Regions from separate parts of the Homo sapiens genome. Here region 2 is linked to region 1. Evidence: promoter capture Hi-C in 16 types of primary human blood cells and fetal thymus (Javierre and others, 2016). All regions are on one chromosome and are shown on one strand. Each heading gives the region's core, a stretch centred on a gene start or on the middle of the fragment in contact. The rest is flanking DNA. Distances are from core to core; before and after follow the strand shown.

The links. Contacts are between HindIII fragments. The CHiCAGO score rates a contact against its expected background, and 5 or more counts as called.
Region 2: a contact is called between a fragment that was not itself captured here and the fragment with the promoter of LYN in region 1, in 1 of 17 cell types (M0 macrophages). The highest score is 7.8, in M0 macrophages.

The regions. Positions count from the first base shown.
Region 1 is chr8:55,875,080-55,882,813 of GRCh38, reverse strand. It overlaps LYN (LYN proto-oncogene, Src family tyrosine kinase), which reads right to left and starts at 2,979. Exons shown (of 13, transcript NM_002350.4): 1 at 2,711-2,979. RefSeq lists enhancers at 887-996, 3,176-3,235, 3,796-3,885, 7,673-7,734 and silencers at 2,196-2,375, 2,406-2,695, 2,776-2,945, 2,966-3,025. The HindIII fragment of the contact is 13,046 bases long and covers 1,354-7,734 here.
Region 2 is chr8:51,940,397-51,947,615 of GRCh38, reverse strand. PCMTD1-DT (PCMTD1 divergent transcript) reads right to left here. Exons shown (of 4, transcript NR_189279.1): 3 at 5,479-5,618; 4 at 1-1,180. Among named protein-coding and RNA genes, the nearest start is that of PCMTD1-DT, 45 kb to the right of the region's middle. The HindIII fragment of the contact is 1,781 bases long and covers 3,311-5,091 here.

The DNA.
Region 1 (7,734 bases), core at 1,730-4,229:
CCTTAGACAACCCCCTGAATCTTTTTCTGTATCTGTCCCTCTCCATCCTATAGGAGCCACAAGAGGTTCAAATGAAATTAGAGTTCAGGAAGACTTCAGAGCCCTGAACAAATGAAAGGTGCTAACACCTTCACCATCATCACTAGGAAGAGCCAGTAAAGGTCTGAGGCTATCTCTGCTATCAATGTGACATTGATCAATGTCCTGACTAATGATTGTGGTGGCCTTTCAATGTTAACACTCATCCATGCATCACTGAGATCATCAGTAGGAGTGAGCTTATAACAATGTTCCCTGCTGTGGGCATGTATACATGGTGTCCTTATTTATAAAGTTAGTATGGGTTTGTACATGAATAATATGATTTAATTTTGTTAAGTTACAACTCCACATAGTCATGTGAACCAACTGGAATCTCAGATGTTTTTGGTGATTTATCTAAAAACAAATATTGCAGATAGAAGTAAAAGGCTTTCAAAGTCATTGAACAGTGCTGGACCACTTTTCTGCTAAAAGAAAGCTATTGGAGGGCAGGGGCGGGATTACAAAGTTTCGACCTACCTTTGTAACACCAATGACTCTAAAATAATGTAGGTCTTCTGGATTGGGCCAACTACCTTTGCAGGAAACATCTTAACCACCCCACATCAGGACCTCTCTTCCAGTAATAAGTAGAGAAGAGCGGTGCTGAGTGGAGACTCTCATTTAGTTACCCACACTAAATGTGGGTAACTCAGTGCTGGGTAACTTTACAGTCAACAAAGCCTCTCAAATCCCCGTTTTAGAAACCACAACAGAAAGGGCCAGTAGGCTTCAAACACCTTAGGGACCAGCTCTATTTCTTCATCTCCCTATGTCCTCAGTTTTGCATAGGGCAAGCTCACAGGAGGCCTTCATTCCTTCTTCCAAGTAATCTCGAACTGAGCACCTACTATGTACCAGGCACTGGGGCTATCATTTTGGACAAGACAGATGAAGCAGTTTTCATGGAGCTTCCACTGTAATGGTTAATACAGACTATCAACCTGCAGACAAATCAATATAACTCTGGCTGCTGCTATAAAGGAAATCTTGGCTGAATAAATGGCCCAAGTGGCTTATCCCAAATCACAGCATATTAAATGATGGAAGAGGCCAAAACTCAAGGTTCCTGGCTCCTACTTTCTCTCCCCTTACATCTGCTGCCCTCTATCCTTCACTCAGCAAAAGGGCCACACATTTACATCCAAAGAGGCCCAGTCACCAAAGACTCTATGATCCAGTGAAATTTATTCAGGCCTCAAAGCGCTTACCTGCTTACCTCCAAATGAGAATGGAGGGACTAACTGGATCCCACCCTTTCCCAACAAAGCTTACTCTTACAGAGAAGGGCTTAGTAAGGCCTGGGTTCTTGCAGTGCCTATTCCCCAGGGCATGGCTTTAGGTGTTGGCTGTACAGAGAAAACATCCCTGTAGCCCACCAGTTTATTGGCTAGTTCTTTAGGGAAAGTCAGACTACTGGGCCCTGCTTTGGGACAGCAAATCCCTCATGTATTTATTAAGCAGATTTACTAATAAGGTCAGATGGCTAAATCTGACATGGTAGTCTTAGCTTCAACATCACCAAGCTGCAAAGAACCAAGAAGCCTCATTTATATGAATAGAATTCACTGCAATAAATAACAGTAACATCGTTTATGAAATGCTTGGTACGTACTAGGGGCTTTGTGTGTACTAAACAGCCCCTGAGGTATATATGCTCTCTCAAAGATGAAGAAACTCAAACAGGGAATTTCAATAATCGGTCCCCTAAATATACAGCCAGAAAAGTGCAAGGCCTAGATTCTGAGCTGGCGAAGAAGGGCGAATTTGGGATAATTAACACACTCGGATATACAAAAACACAACCGCTAATCCACATGACAGGCAGGCTGTTGGAAAGTTACGAATGCACCGCAAGCAAAAGATGCCACCATGGGCCCAGAGAATGCAGGAAAGTGGGAACTGACTCTTACGCCCTTCCCCCAAGGCGAAGGAAAGGCAACCCCTGAATTCTTAAAATAACTCTCGCTTCCTCTCAGCCGGCAAAAGCACCGGACTGCTCCTCGGCAGGCCGAGAGGCGCCGCAGCGGGAGGGTGAGTTCCAGCCTCCGCTGCAGCCCCTCGACGTCACGCTCCTGCCCGGGGCCACCAGGGAGGGCAACTGTCCGCGGGCCTCGAGAGGGCGCCGGCCGAGCCCCATCTCCCACTGCCAGGAGACCCAGGGTCCAGAGGGGAGATCAGATTGCACAATCCGAGGAGTCCTCTCCAGTATCCCCGCCGCGCGCCCGCTCCGCAAGGGCAGCGGCTTCCCCACTGTGTGCGAGAAGCGGCCGGAGCAGGGACAGCAGCCGGCCCTCGGGCCCTCACCGGGAAGGACACGCGGTGAGCCCGCCCCCGCGCCCGCACCTCCCACCGCTCCCCTGCGCGGCTCCGCGGCGGACACCTGCGGAGCCTCAGTCCCCGCGCCCTGGCTCCCCCGGGCCCGGTCACCCGTCGGCTGAAGACATCTAAGAGCCTTCGCCGCCGGAGCCCAGAGGCGGTGCGGCCAGGAAGCCGCCGCGGGCCGCGCCGATGCCCCCGGCCCCGAGTCTACCCTGCGCCCGGGACTCCGGCTGGTGGCACAGCCGCGGCCCCTGCACCCACTGCCCGCGTGCCCGCGCCCACCCCTGGGCTCGCGCAGAGGACTCACCCGCTCGCGGTGAAAGTTTCGGGGCGGCGGAGCTCCACGGTGACTTGAGTTCAGAGTGGGGGGCGCGACGGGGCGGCCCAGCAGGACCTGCGTATGGGGAGGCTGCTGGCCGGGAACGCTGGACGCGCGGCGAGGGGCTGCTGGCGCGGGGCCGGGGGTGGCGCGGCCGCCCCGCTTGCCGCGGGCTGGAGGCTGCAGCGCGTCTGGCCCGGAGGCGCCACGGCCGGGGAGCGAGCGGCAGCGCGGCCCGGCGCGGCGGGAGAGGAACTGGCTGTCTCTGGGCTCGGCCGAGAGGTCCCAGCTACTTCCTGGTGCTCGGATTTGCATATTGAGCCCGGAGGGCGGGGAAGTGACCGTTTGGTCCCTGCCCAAGGTTTGGGTGTTTGGTGTGGCCGTCGCGCAGGGCTTTGAAGGCACAGAAACCTGGCGACTCAGTCTGCAGCTCCGGGGAGTGGAGCAGCCCGGGCCAGCCTTCTCCTGTAGGGACGGACGGAAGGATCTCCAGAGGAGCCTGGGCTTCGCAGGCACATCGACTACACCTCTCGCGTCTCCTTTCCTTTCCTTCCGACCCATCCCCAAGGTATTATTAGGAAGGGGGTGCTCCCAGGAGCGGAGGAGGTGCGCTCTGATCCCTTCCAACATTAGGGGTTCTCTAGAGAAAGGATGCGATATGCCGAGGTGATGCTCGGGGTCTCGCTGAGTTCTTAATAATCATTACAAAGTAAGTTCCTTAAGGGTGTACAGGAGGCTGTTCAGGGCATTGATGGGGGAGGGGATGACGTAGAGTCAAATGGCCCGGCAAGTTCTCCGTTTCTCAAAGCCTCAGTTTCCTCCCAGGACAATGGATGTGAGGATGCCTATCTCGTGTACCTTTCTGTACAGGGCCCGCACTGCCCGCATGCAGGAATGCTGGCGTTATTTCATTCCTACTACAGCTGCGTCCCAGCATGTAGGGCAGTGCTTGCACGTAGCAGCTGGTGCCTAACCAGTGTTTGCTGAAAGAATGTGTGACCGCGTGCTCAAGCTCATGTTCAACTCAATAAATGCCACTTACAAATCCAAGATGTAAGATTAGGCTCGGGCACCGTGGATACCCACTTCTTCTAAGCCAGATTCTGTTCACTGGGATCTCAGCATTGCATTAATAGCAAACATTTACAGAGGGCCTGATGGGCCAGACACTGCCCAAAGCACTTCCTTTCTCTCATTAACAATGTTCTGAAGAGGCTGACCCCAGCTACAGAGCAATAAGTCAAAGCAGCTGCCTTGTGACACAATCTGATACAGCAGTTATTTGTTACTAGGAAAAGAGTACTAAAGTTTGCATACTAATTCCTTAAAAGAAGAAAGGTGGTTTATACCTGTGATGTTCACTGGTATGTAGTTGTTAGTTTACTGCTGAAGAGAAGGGGTGGGTTGCCCATGGAAATACCCATGGGAAGGTGTGTGATTGAAACCTATCAAGAATCCTATGGAGAAAAATAGAAAAATGAAAAAAGAACAAAACAAAACAAAATGAAACAAAAAACAATGAATCCTACAGAATAATTCACTACCTGAGGGCCTATTGCCTAGACTTTTCTTAAGAATGACCTCTCAAATATATTAACCCTACATTAAAGTTTCTGCTGCTACTGATGAATCCTTGAGATCCTGACTAAACGTGTGTGGCAAATAAGAATAGGATTCAAAAACGTTTGGTATTGGTTAATCTATCAGGAATGTCTGTCAGTGTTTTTGGTAAAATGTCTCTCAGGGTAAGGAACAAAGCATCATCAGGCTTACCTGAGCTTGCAACCAGATCCCCAACTCCCTAACTCCTCACAAAATTGTCCTCACTAAGTTCATCTCTTCATTCTTATTTGGAAAAAAACGATACGATGCTAATTTCCACTTCTTAGGCTGCATTTATACTTGCTGAATACTTCATTCAATCATTCTCCATATCTGTCTTTCCTTCTTAATGTCCCATGAAAGTTCTATTTCTCAGGAAAGTTTTATTTAAAGCTCCTATTGATAGGCAACTTTTTAAAGCATCTGTAGCATGTATGGTGTGCAACATTATTTTAAACTAGACCTAGGTACTTTTTAGCATTGTTTGCCCATGTTAGGCTTGTCTCCTCAACTACTGGTAAACTCCTTTTGGGAAGGCACTGCCTTTTATATTTATCTATTCCCCACTCTACCTCCCAGAAATTATGTTGGGTGCTTTAAAATAGTTCATTAGTATTGATTGATTGGTTAATTGATTGATGACTGATTTATCTCACCAGTTTTCTCTAAATTGAGCACAGAAGGCAGTGATCAGAGGCAGGGTGCAAATCAATTAAGGCTCCTTGACAGGATAGATGGGCCTTTGAAGAAAGGAAGGAATACGATGGGCGGGGCAAGAGAAGGCGGTATTGTAAATACGTTATGTACAGTGTATCCTCATTTTTGCAGATATCATATTTGTGAACTTATCTACTTGCTAAAATGTATTTGTAATCTCAAAATCAATACTTGAGGTGTTTTCCCAGTCACTCATAGATATGCACATCCCAGAGCAGTAAAAATCTTGAGTTGCCCCACGCACACCCTCCCAGCTATAGTGGAACAAGGCGATGCTCTGCCTTCTTGTATTCTTTTTGCTGTCCATTTAGTTTATGCTTTCCACACTTCTGTGCTTTTTGTTGGTGATTTTGCTGTTTAAAATGGCCCCCAAGCGACTGAGCTCAGTGGCTCATGCCTGTAATCCCAGCACTTTGGGAGGCCGAGGTGGGAGGATTGCTCGAGCTCAGGAGTTCAAGACCATCCTAGGCAATATCGTGAGACCCCCCCCACAATAAAAAAATTAAAAAAAATAAAAATAAAAATAAATGGCCCGAAGCGTAGAGCTTGCTAAAGTGCTGTCTGTTGTTGCTAAGCACCAGAGGCTGTGGCGTGCCCACTGGAGAACCGTCCTGCAGGCAGGAGCTACTGTGCTATTGGTTGTGAACTCAATGTAATGAATCAGCCATATATTAAATAAGGTGTCCATTAAACAGAAACACACACCATATAAGGTTATGTATTAATCATAATGTAATGAAAATGTTGTGTCCAGAGACTCACAGGAACCTAAGAAGCAGTGACTCGGTATTCGCTAATTCAGTGTTCACAGTGACTATAGAACATAACTACCACAAATAATGGGACGCAGCATACAAGAGCATCCCATCATCCACTGTGGGAAAATGAAATATCTGACCTCTAGGAACTTCTTCATTAGCACCGCCATCATCATCTCATGCGTGGTCATGGTGCTTGAGGCCAGGATTGGTCATGCTGCTCACCTGTTCATGTTGGTCCACCAAATCATCTGTGCTGCAACCCATCCCACTGCCACTGTGTGGGCTGCCCCTGCTGCCTCTTCTAGTATTCTTCCACCTAACTCTTGCCAACTTGGCCACAGACCTAACTACCAAGTAGCAAATAATACAGAGTAGTGGTGCTCAACCCTGGGGGCACATTAGAATCACCTGAGCTGCTAAAATATCTCCATGCCCAGGCCCTACCTAGACCAGTTAAATCAAAGTCTTTGGGGGATGGGGATGGTGAGGGGAACCCCAATTATCAGAGACTGAAAACCTTGCCAGGTGGTTCCAATGAGCAGCCAAGTTTGGGAACCACTGGTGGAGTGTGCTCCGCCCTCCCCTAGCCTGGAGCTCACCTCTCTGAACAACGTCCACCTTCCTCAAGCCCTCATGCCCCCAGGTCCTCTGTCTTTAAGAGAGTAGCATGTGGCCAGGGGCAGTGGCTCAAACCTATAATCCCAGCACTTTGGGAGGCTGACGTGGGTGGATCACCTGAGATCAGGAGTTTGAGACCAGCCTGGCCAACATGGTGAAACCCTGTCTCTACTAAAAATACAAAAATTAGCTGGGTGTGGTGGCTCACACCTGTAGTCCTAGTTACTCGGGAGGCTGAGGCAAGAGAATTGCTTGAACCCAGGAGGTGGAGGTTGCAGTGAGCCAAGATCACGCCACTGCACTCCAGCCTGGACAACAGAGTGAGACTCGGTCTCAAAAAAAAAAAAAAAAAAAAAAAGTAGCATGGATATATGCCTCTGTGTGAGGGTAAAGTGGTAAGGATTGAGAATATTAAACCTGTATTACTGGGGAAAATGGGTGACTTTAGCACAAGTGATTATAGATACAAGGAATTAATAAAGAAAAACAAAAATTGCTAAGAATTATTTTAGGCTACAAAAAAATTTTAACAACTATATGAAATATTATTTATACATAAATTGCCACAAGGTAGATTTTTTCTTAAATACTTATCCAATGTTAACCGGTATTACAGGCCAGGCACAGTGGCTCACGCCTGTAATCCCAGCACTTTGGGAGGCCGAGGCGGGCAGATCACGAGGTCAGGAGATCGAGACCATCCTGGCTAACACAGTGAAACCCCATCTCTACTAAAAATATAAAAAAAAATTAGCCGGGCATGGTGATGGGCACCTGTAGTCCCAACTACTCGGGAGGCTGAGGCAGGAGAATGGCGTGAACCCGGGAGGCAGAGCTTGCAGTGAGCAGAGATCGCACCACTGCACTCCAGCCTGGGTGATAGAGTGAGCCTCCGTCTCAAAAAAAAAAAAAAAAAAAAACAGGTCTGACATGGAGAAAGTATTTATGGTCAAGTAGGTTTGGCAACTTTTTGAGCTGAACCCAGTCTCACAAAGCTCCTTGTAGCACAGTGATGTCACTGTCAATCTCCATGAAGGAGCTAAGTGTATTTTTGTCCCAGATCATATACCCAGGTGATGGATTTGCTGAAAGCTGCACCTGGGACCAGCTGTCAAGCAGAAGACACAGCTATTGATGTGAATAGAGACCTCTCAGAGCCACCAAGCTAGCCGTTGTTTCATCATCACCCTAAACTAAATTCAGAAAAGCTGAATGTTCATACACCGTAAGACAGCTGAGAGTGGGCAGGAATGTCATGCATCACTGCCACCTGGCACCAGCAGATCTCCTGGAACTGTGCTCGCTGATGTGCTG
Region 2 (7,219 bases), core at 2,952-5,451, 3.9 Mb after region 1:
AAAATGAGTTAATTAGGTTCAATGAAAAATCACAGCAGGCCAGGCATGGTGGCTCACACCTGTAATCCCAGTACTTTGGGGGGCCAGGCGGGCGGATCACTTGAGGTCAGTAGTTTGAGACCAGCCTGGCCAACATGGCAAAACCCTGTCTCTACTAAAAATACAAAAATTAGCCAGGCATGGTGGCACATGCCTATAATCCCAGCTACTCGGAAGGCTGAGGCAGGAGAATTGCTTGAACCCAGGGGGCAGAGGTTGCAATGAGCTGAGATGGCACCACTCTACTCCAGCCTGGGTGACAGAGTGAAACTCTGTATCAAACAAAACAAAACAAAACAAAACAAAACAAAACAAAACAAAAAAAAACACCCAGTAGCGAGTTTGGCATTCCCCTCTGCAGACTTGCTGCTGCTGCTGCTGCTTTTCTCGCGCCATAATTCTTGTCTCTCTCATCAGTCTCTCGACCAGAACAAGATTAGCAGCACGCTCAGTCCTGCACTCTGGAAGTCTTCCTGCCCTTGGAAGCTGCTTCTAAAGACACAGAGGGCCCAGTTTGTAGGGACTTTCAGCTGGATCATATGTGATACAGATGAGTTCTTCCGATCCTAGAGCTCCAACCTGCAGAACAGCCACATCTTCTTTCACAAGCATTCTGGTCTATGATTGGGAAAAAGGAGTCCGCAGCCTCTGTGTGCAGAATGGGGCTCACTGTAGGTAGCAGTGGCAGGTCTAGTAACACTTCTTCTCTGGCTGCTCCAGCACCATGGGAGTTTAGAGCTGGGAAGGAGAAAGCAGCAACACAAGAAAGAAGGTGGTAAGGAAGTGAGAGAAGGTGGGCGCCAGCCAGCTCCCGGGACGTCTCCAGGCCACACAAAGAGCTTCCTCGTCATGCCCTGGACACCATCATCTCTGGGATGCAGCTGCCTCCCCCAGTGGCCACACAGACAGTGCTCTCTGTGGACAGGCCATCCAGGGATGGGACAGTGGCTGGGGGGGTAGGGGGATGTGCTAGGAAAGACCAGCTTCACTAGGAGGCTTTTGTCTGGGTTGGAAATTAGAAAGTGGTCCACAAAATCAAGAGAAAGTGTAATTTCTTGACAAACACATTTTGAGGTATTTTTGCAAGTGACTTTGATCCTCTGGGACATGGAAGTGTTTAATTCCGAGAATCTGTGTTGACCTAAAAAAAAGAGAAACGGAGGCAAAATTAACAGAAATAGTTTATTTGGGCCAAGCTTGAGAACTGCAACCCAAGAGCATTATTCAAGTTGCCCCGAATATACACTCTGAGTAGCAGCAGTTACAAGTAGATTTTTAAAGGCAGAAAAGGGGGATAGGGAGTGGACTCATACGAAGTATTTGTCAGGAATTCACATTGGTTTACAGAAATGACATTAAATAGTGATTGGCTATACCTTGTTAAGCTACTGGGTATGGGTTATAGTGTCCAGTGAGGCATTATTAGGTTAATTGATAGCTACTTGTGGCAAGAGCGAGCAGGTTTTTATTTATTTATTTATTTATTTATTTTTATTTTTCGTAGAGACAGGGTTCTCACTTTGTTGCCCAGGCTGGTCTTGAACTCCTGGTCTCAAGTGATCCTCCTGTCCTGGCCTCCCAAAGTGTTGGGATTACAGGCACGAGCCACTGTGTCCACCCGCAAGCAATTTGAAGACATGAATATGTAGCTCAGTGGGGAAGTAGGACATGATTCCTGTCTCATTATGTCTCTCTGGGCCTGATTGTTTAAAAGGACTCATAGTCCTCAGATAAAAGTTCTTATCTTATCTTTTCTCACCTAGTATCATAGGGAGAGGGGGAATGAGAAGAAGTTTTAAATCTCTGGGCCTGATGGTTTAAAAGGACACATAGTCCTCAGATTTACACTCTGGGCCTGATTGTTTAAAAGGACTCATAGTCTTCAGACAAAAATTCTTATCTTTTTTTTTTTTTTTTTTTTTTGAGATGGAGTCTCACTCTGTTGCCCATGCTGGAGTGCAGTGGCACAATCTCGGCTCACTGCAAACTCCGCCTCCCAGGTTCAAGCGATTCTCCTGCCTCAGCCTCCCGAGTAGCTGGGACTACATGTGCCCGCCACCATGCCCGGCTAATTTTGTGTATTTTTCAGTGGAGACGGGGTTTCACCGTGTTAGCCAGGATGGTCTCCATCTCCTGACCTCATGATCTACCCACCTCAGCCTCCCAAAGTGCTGGGATTACAGGCGTGAGCCACTGCACCCGGCCACAAGTTCTTATCTTTTCTCACTTGGTATTATAGGAAGAAAGGGAATGAGGAGGGTTTCAAAAGCATGTCTATTTAAAAGCATGTCCTTTTAAAACCCCTTCTCATTCCCTCTCTCCCTGTGATACCAGGTGAGATTTAAAGGGACATGCTTGGCCAGGTGCAGTGGCTCATACCTGTAATCCTAGCACTTTGGGAGCCTGAGGTGGGTGGATCACTTGAGGTCAGGAGTTCGGGACCAGCCTGACCAACATGGCAAAACCTGTCTCTACTAAAGATACAAAAATTAGCTGGGCGTGGTGGTGCACGTCTGTAGTCCCAGCTACTTGGGAGGCTGAGGCAGGAGAATCACTTGAACCTGAGAGGCGGAGGTTGCAGTGAGCCAAGATTGCACCACTGCACTCCAGCCTGGGCGACAAAGCGAGATTCTCTCTCAAAAAAAAAAAAAAGACATGCTAATCAGAACCTCAGAACTGTGATCTTATAGTATGCATCACAATTGAGGGAGGGAGCTCTGAAACCCAGACCTGCTTTCAGTGGCATTTCCCCCACTTTAATCTCCAGGATTAGACACTGTCATAGGCTTTGGGCTGTCAATTTCCTTTTCTACTCAAGAGTTCCCTCAGATAACCTGCCTTCTGTCTTATCTTGTCAGGCCTTCACCCTCTCCAAGTTAGAAAGGGGTCTTTACAAGTTAGTAAATAGACTTTACATGTTAAGAGAAGGAAGATTTTTGTTTATAGCGGAGCCTTGACCAAAATCTCCTTTGAAGTAAGATTGAGATACAATGTTTTACCCCATGATGCTGATGCTACATCAAGTCAGCATTTTATTTATCCACTAACTTAACAACCATTGGTTGAGCTCCAAGAATTGCATGCACCACTCTAGATCCTGAATCTACACCAATAAATGAGAGTTCAGCTGCCTCCTTTTGTGCAGTTTATTTTCTTGTGTGGGGACAACAGTCAACTGACAAGTAAGCAAATAAAAAAATAATAATATTATTGAGCTAAAAGGAAGAACCTGAGGCAAAACTAATATAAGAGAGTTTATCTGGGCCAAGCTTGAGGGTTGTGTAATTACCAGATGAATTCTTCCTGCTTGCTGCATAGACAAAACCAATTCACTGAGACCATGCTATTGCAGGAAAGAAAGAGTAATTGACATGAGACTGCCACATGGGAGACAGAGCTATTACTCAAATCAGACACTCCAAGGACTCAGAGGCTAGGGTTTTTATGGACAATTTGGTGGGCAGGGACCTAGGGAATGGGTGGTGCTGATTGGTTGGGGAGGAAATCATAGAGATGTGGAAAATGGTCCTCTGGGTGGGCCCCAGGACCTGATGGGTCATGAGTCATCGTCCGGATACAGTCAGTTTGAAAAACATTTCAAAAAATCAATCTTAGCTTCCACAATCATGATGTTATTTATAAGAGCAATTGGGGAAGTCATGAATCCTGTGCCTTCTGCCACATGACTCTGGAGCAGTAAGAGATTATAGAAACGACACCTACATCTTAGCAGAGTTCAGGCCCCTCTCATAATCTTATTCTTGTGGACTTTCATTAGTTTTACAAATGCAGTTTAGTTTTGTGAAGAGCTATTATCATCTTTGTTTTAAGGTTGAACTAGAAACAAAATCCCTCCCAAAGTTAGCTTGGCCTCTACCTAGGAATTAACCGGGACAGCTAGGTGGTCAGAAGCAAGATGGAGTCAGCCCTGTTAGATTTCTGTCACTGTAGTAATCGTAATCTTTGCAAAGGTGGTTTCAGTTGCAATTCCATAGGTTGGAGTTGCCCTCAACATACATCCAGTTAGCAACAGTTACAAATAGGTTTTTAAAGTAAAAGAAAGAGGCAGTTCCTCAGTTGTTTAGCAAAAAATTACATTAAAATAACATAAGCTATTGATGGACTACATACTGTTCTTTGTATCACAAACTCCTGCAACATGAAGATACTGGGTGAGGCGGCTAGTCAGGAACTAAATGGCTTTAAACCACGGTGGGAGCAGGGTGGAATGACTGCAGGCCCTGCTCCTGTCTCTCTGCACCTGCATACTTCACATAGTGCAGACTGCGCTAAGCTATTTTTCTTTTCTCAACATCAACAATAAGTGCTATGAAGAGTGTCTTAAAGAGGGATATGACATGGATGTTACTCCGCATTGGGTGACTGGGGAAGCACTCTGTGAGGTGAGATTTGCGCAGATCCTGAATGACAGGAGGAAGCCCCAGGTGCAGAGGTCTGCCGGCAGAAACATGCCCGGAGTTTTCAAGGAGCAGAAACAATCAGCCCGTGTGGCTGGGAGGTCATGAGACCTGGTGGGCAGATCTAAGCAGTCCTGTGTGCTGCCTTGTTTTACCTAGGACCTCAAAGATTCGCAGTGAGTGGAGAGGGGACCAGGGACAATACAATTTCAGGAGCAGTAGGGGCCATGAAAGCAGAGAAGGAAGTGCCCAGGCAAGGCGTCCTACGAGGTGAGGCGCTGGTTGTTGGGGCTCAGAAGTTAATACCCCAACAATATGGCACATTGACATGCTGAACTGAAGAAGCCTCAAGGTCTTTCTCCCCGGCCCACCTCCTACCATTTCTCCCAAAGCACAGAAGGAAGTTAACATTTCTTTATCTGCCTAATAGCCAAACCCATTAAGGAGAACAGTTGTTTTAAATTCCCCTCCCTATAAGACCAAGAATGTAACCATGCCTGAACAGACCCACTCACAAGACAACATATAAATTAATCTCTATTCTCTGATCTATTTATTCTTCCTAGTAATCCCCTTAACAGAATTCCTCTTCTCTCCCTCCCACACCCTGTTTTGCCAGGATGGCAGACAAGCTTCTGAACCCCATTAGGAGGTGGGTGAGTACTCTGTGGTTCTCCTTGTGTGCATGTTAATAGATCTATATGCCTTTTCTCCAACATATCTGCCTTTTGCGAGTTCATTTTTTAGTGAATCTTCAGAGGGTGAAGGAGAAGTTTTTTCCTGTGGCCCATATATGGCCAAGCATCATGCCCTGTCAGGCATGCACAGCGCATCTGAGCGACTCGCAGCAATGGCTCAGGATGCCACACTCTGAGGAGATCCTCCGAGTATCCTACCCTGCAACGCTTCAACCCACCACTTCCCTCTGCCTTGGGGAACTTAGAGGTCAACTTATCACCATTTGTAGGCCCTAACCTGAGTTCTGCAATCGTAGAATGGCTTTTGTTGCTGGTTGACTTACATGATTCCTTCTCTTAGTCATTTTCATTTCTAGACAACATTCTCTTCATTATATGGATGGCCTTGCCTTTCCTCTCTCCTCTTCTTCCAGTTTTCTTCACTGAGTGTTATTTATTCCCAATAGACAATGTTGGAGTTTGTCTGAGGGTTATAGAAAGGGAAAAAGTGTCCCTTAAGAACATTCCTAAGGAAAAATATGTCTTCTGATTTCTTGAGCTTAGAATATGTTAAAAGTAGAAGAAAGGATCCTAACTGACGTGAACTTACATCATCAGGGTCAGTTTAGTTTAAAAAATATTGATTTAATTTCTAATTTGTACTAGCACTACATGTACAATGAGTTCGTAACTATAAATGAGGTGAGATTGAAAAAATATATATAGCCAGGCATGGTGGTGCACTCCTGTACTCCTGTATTCCTACCTACTTGAGAGGCTGAGGTGGGAGGATCCCTTGAACCCAGGAGTTCAAGCCTGCAATAAGATACGATAGCAGCATTGCACTCTAGCCTGGATGACAGAGTGAGACTCTGTCTCTAAAAGAAAAAAAAAAAATATATATATATATATACACACACACACATATGTGAGTGTATTTATACACACATATATACACATTAAATATATACAAATATATATATAAAGACGAATGAGTTTGGGGAAACATAATGAGTTTGGTTTTTTTCCAAGAGACAGCTGGATATATGAATCTGGAGCTTAGGGAAGACGTCAAGGGTGGAAATATAGATGTCGATATCCTCTTTAATTTCAGGTAATTATCTTAGGATCAATCTTCCTCTACAAATTAGAAAGGACATATACTCAGAAGCTAGTAGTTATAAGATTTCCACAGATTTCATTCTACTTCTGGCATGCTGCTGCACGCAAGCAACTAGGAACAGCACCAGGTATAAAATGCTTTATTGATCTGAGTGAGTCCAACTCATGACCACTCTTTCTCCACAGTATTTATCACGGTGGTTTTACTGACATCAGTGACTTGTTTTTTTCTAATATTGGCTCCTCCTCCTGTTTCTGTTATCTGTTTTGATTTGGTTTTGCCATCAACGTCTTTGGCTGGAGTCATCTGCAGGATATCTCTTACTATAGGAAGTGGTCAGACAGGTGGGACTGTGGCATTGCATCTCACAATGTGGAGTCTGCATGGAAATGCACAGGTGATGCCCTCTGGGCCTAACCAAAAGCAGAACTTGGTCATTTGTCTCCACCATCATATCCTGAACCTACAACTTGAGACAAGCAGCACAAAATCACAAAGGTCCTGTAAGCACCCAATGGGTTCCTCTTGCCTGCTGCCCAGATGCAGTCAGTTTATCAAGATGAGAATTGCAATAGAGAGTTTAATGCACAGAGAGTTGGATAGGTGAAAGACTGGACTTTACTCAAATCAGTCTGTTTTTTAAGTTATAAAGAACTAGGGTTTTTAAAGGATAATTTGGCAGGCAGGAGACTGAGAAACGAGGAATGCTGATTGATCGGGTTGGGAACGAAATCACAGGGATTCGAAACCATCTTCTTACACTGAGTCAGTTTGTGGGTGGGGGCCACACAACCAGTTGAGCCACTTTACTAGTCTGGGTGGTGCCAGTTGAGCTATCAGAATGCAGGGTTGGAAAAAATACCTCAAACACCAATCTGAGATTTTACAGTAGTGATGTTATCCATAGGAGCAATTGGGGAGGTTGGGAATCTTGGGGTCTTTGGCTCAAGGAGGGTTTGTTT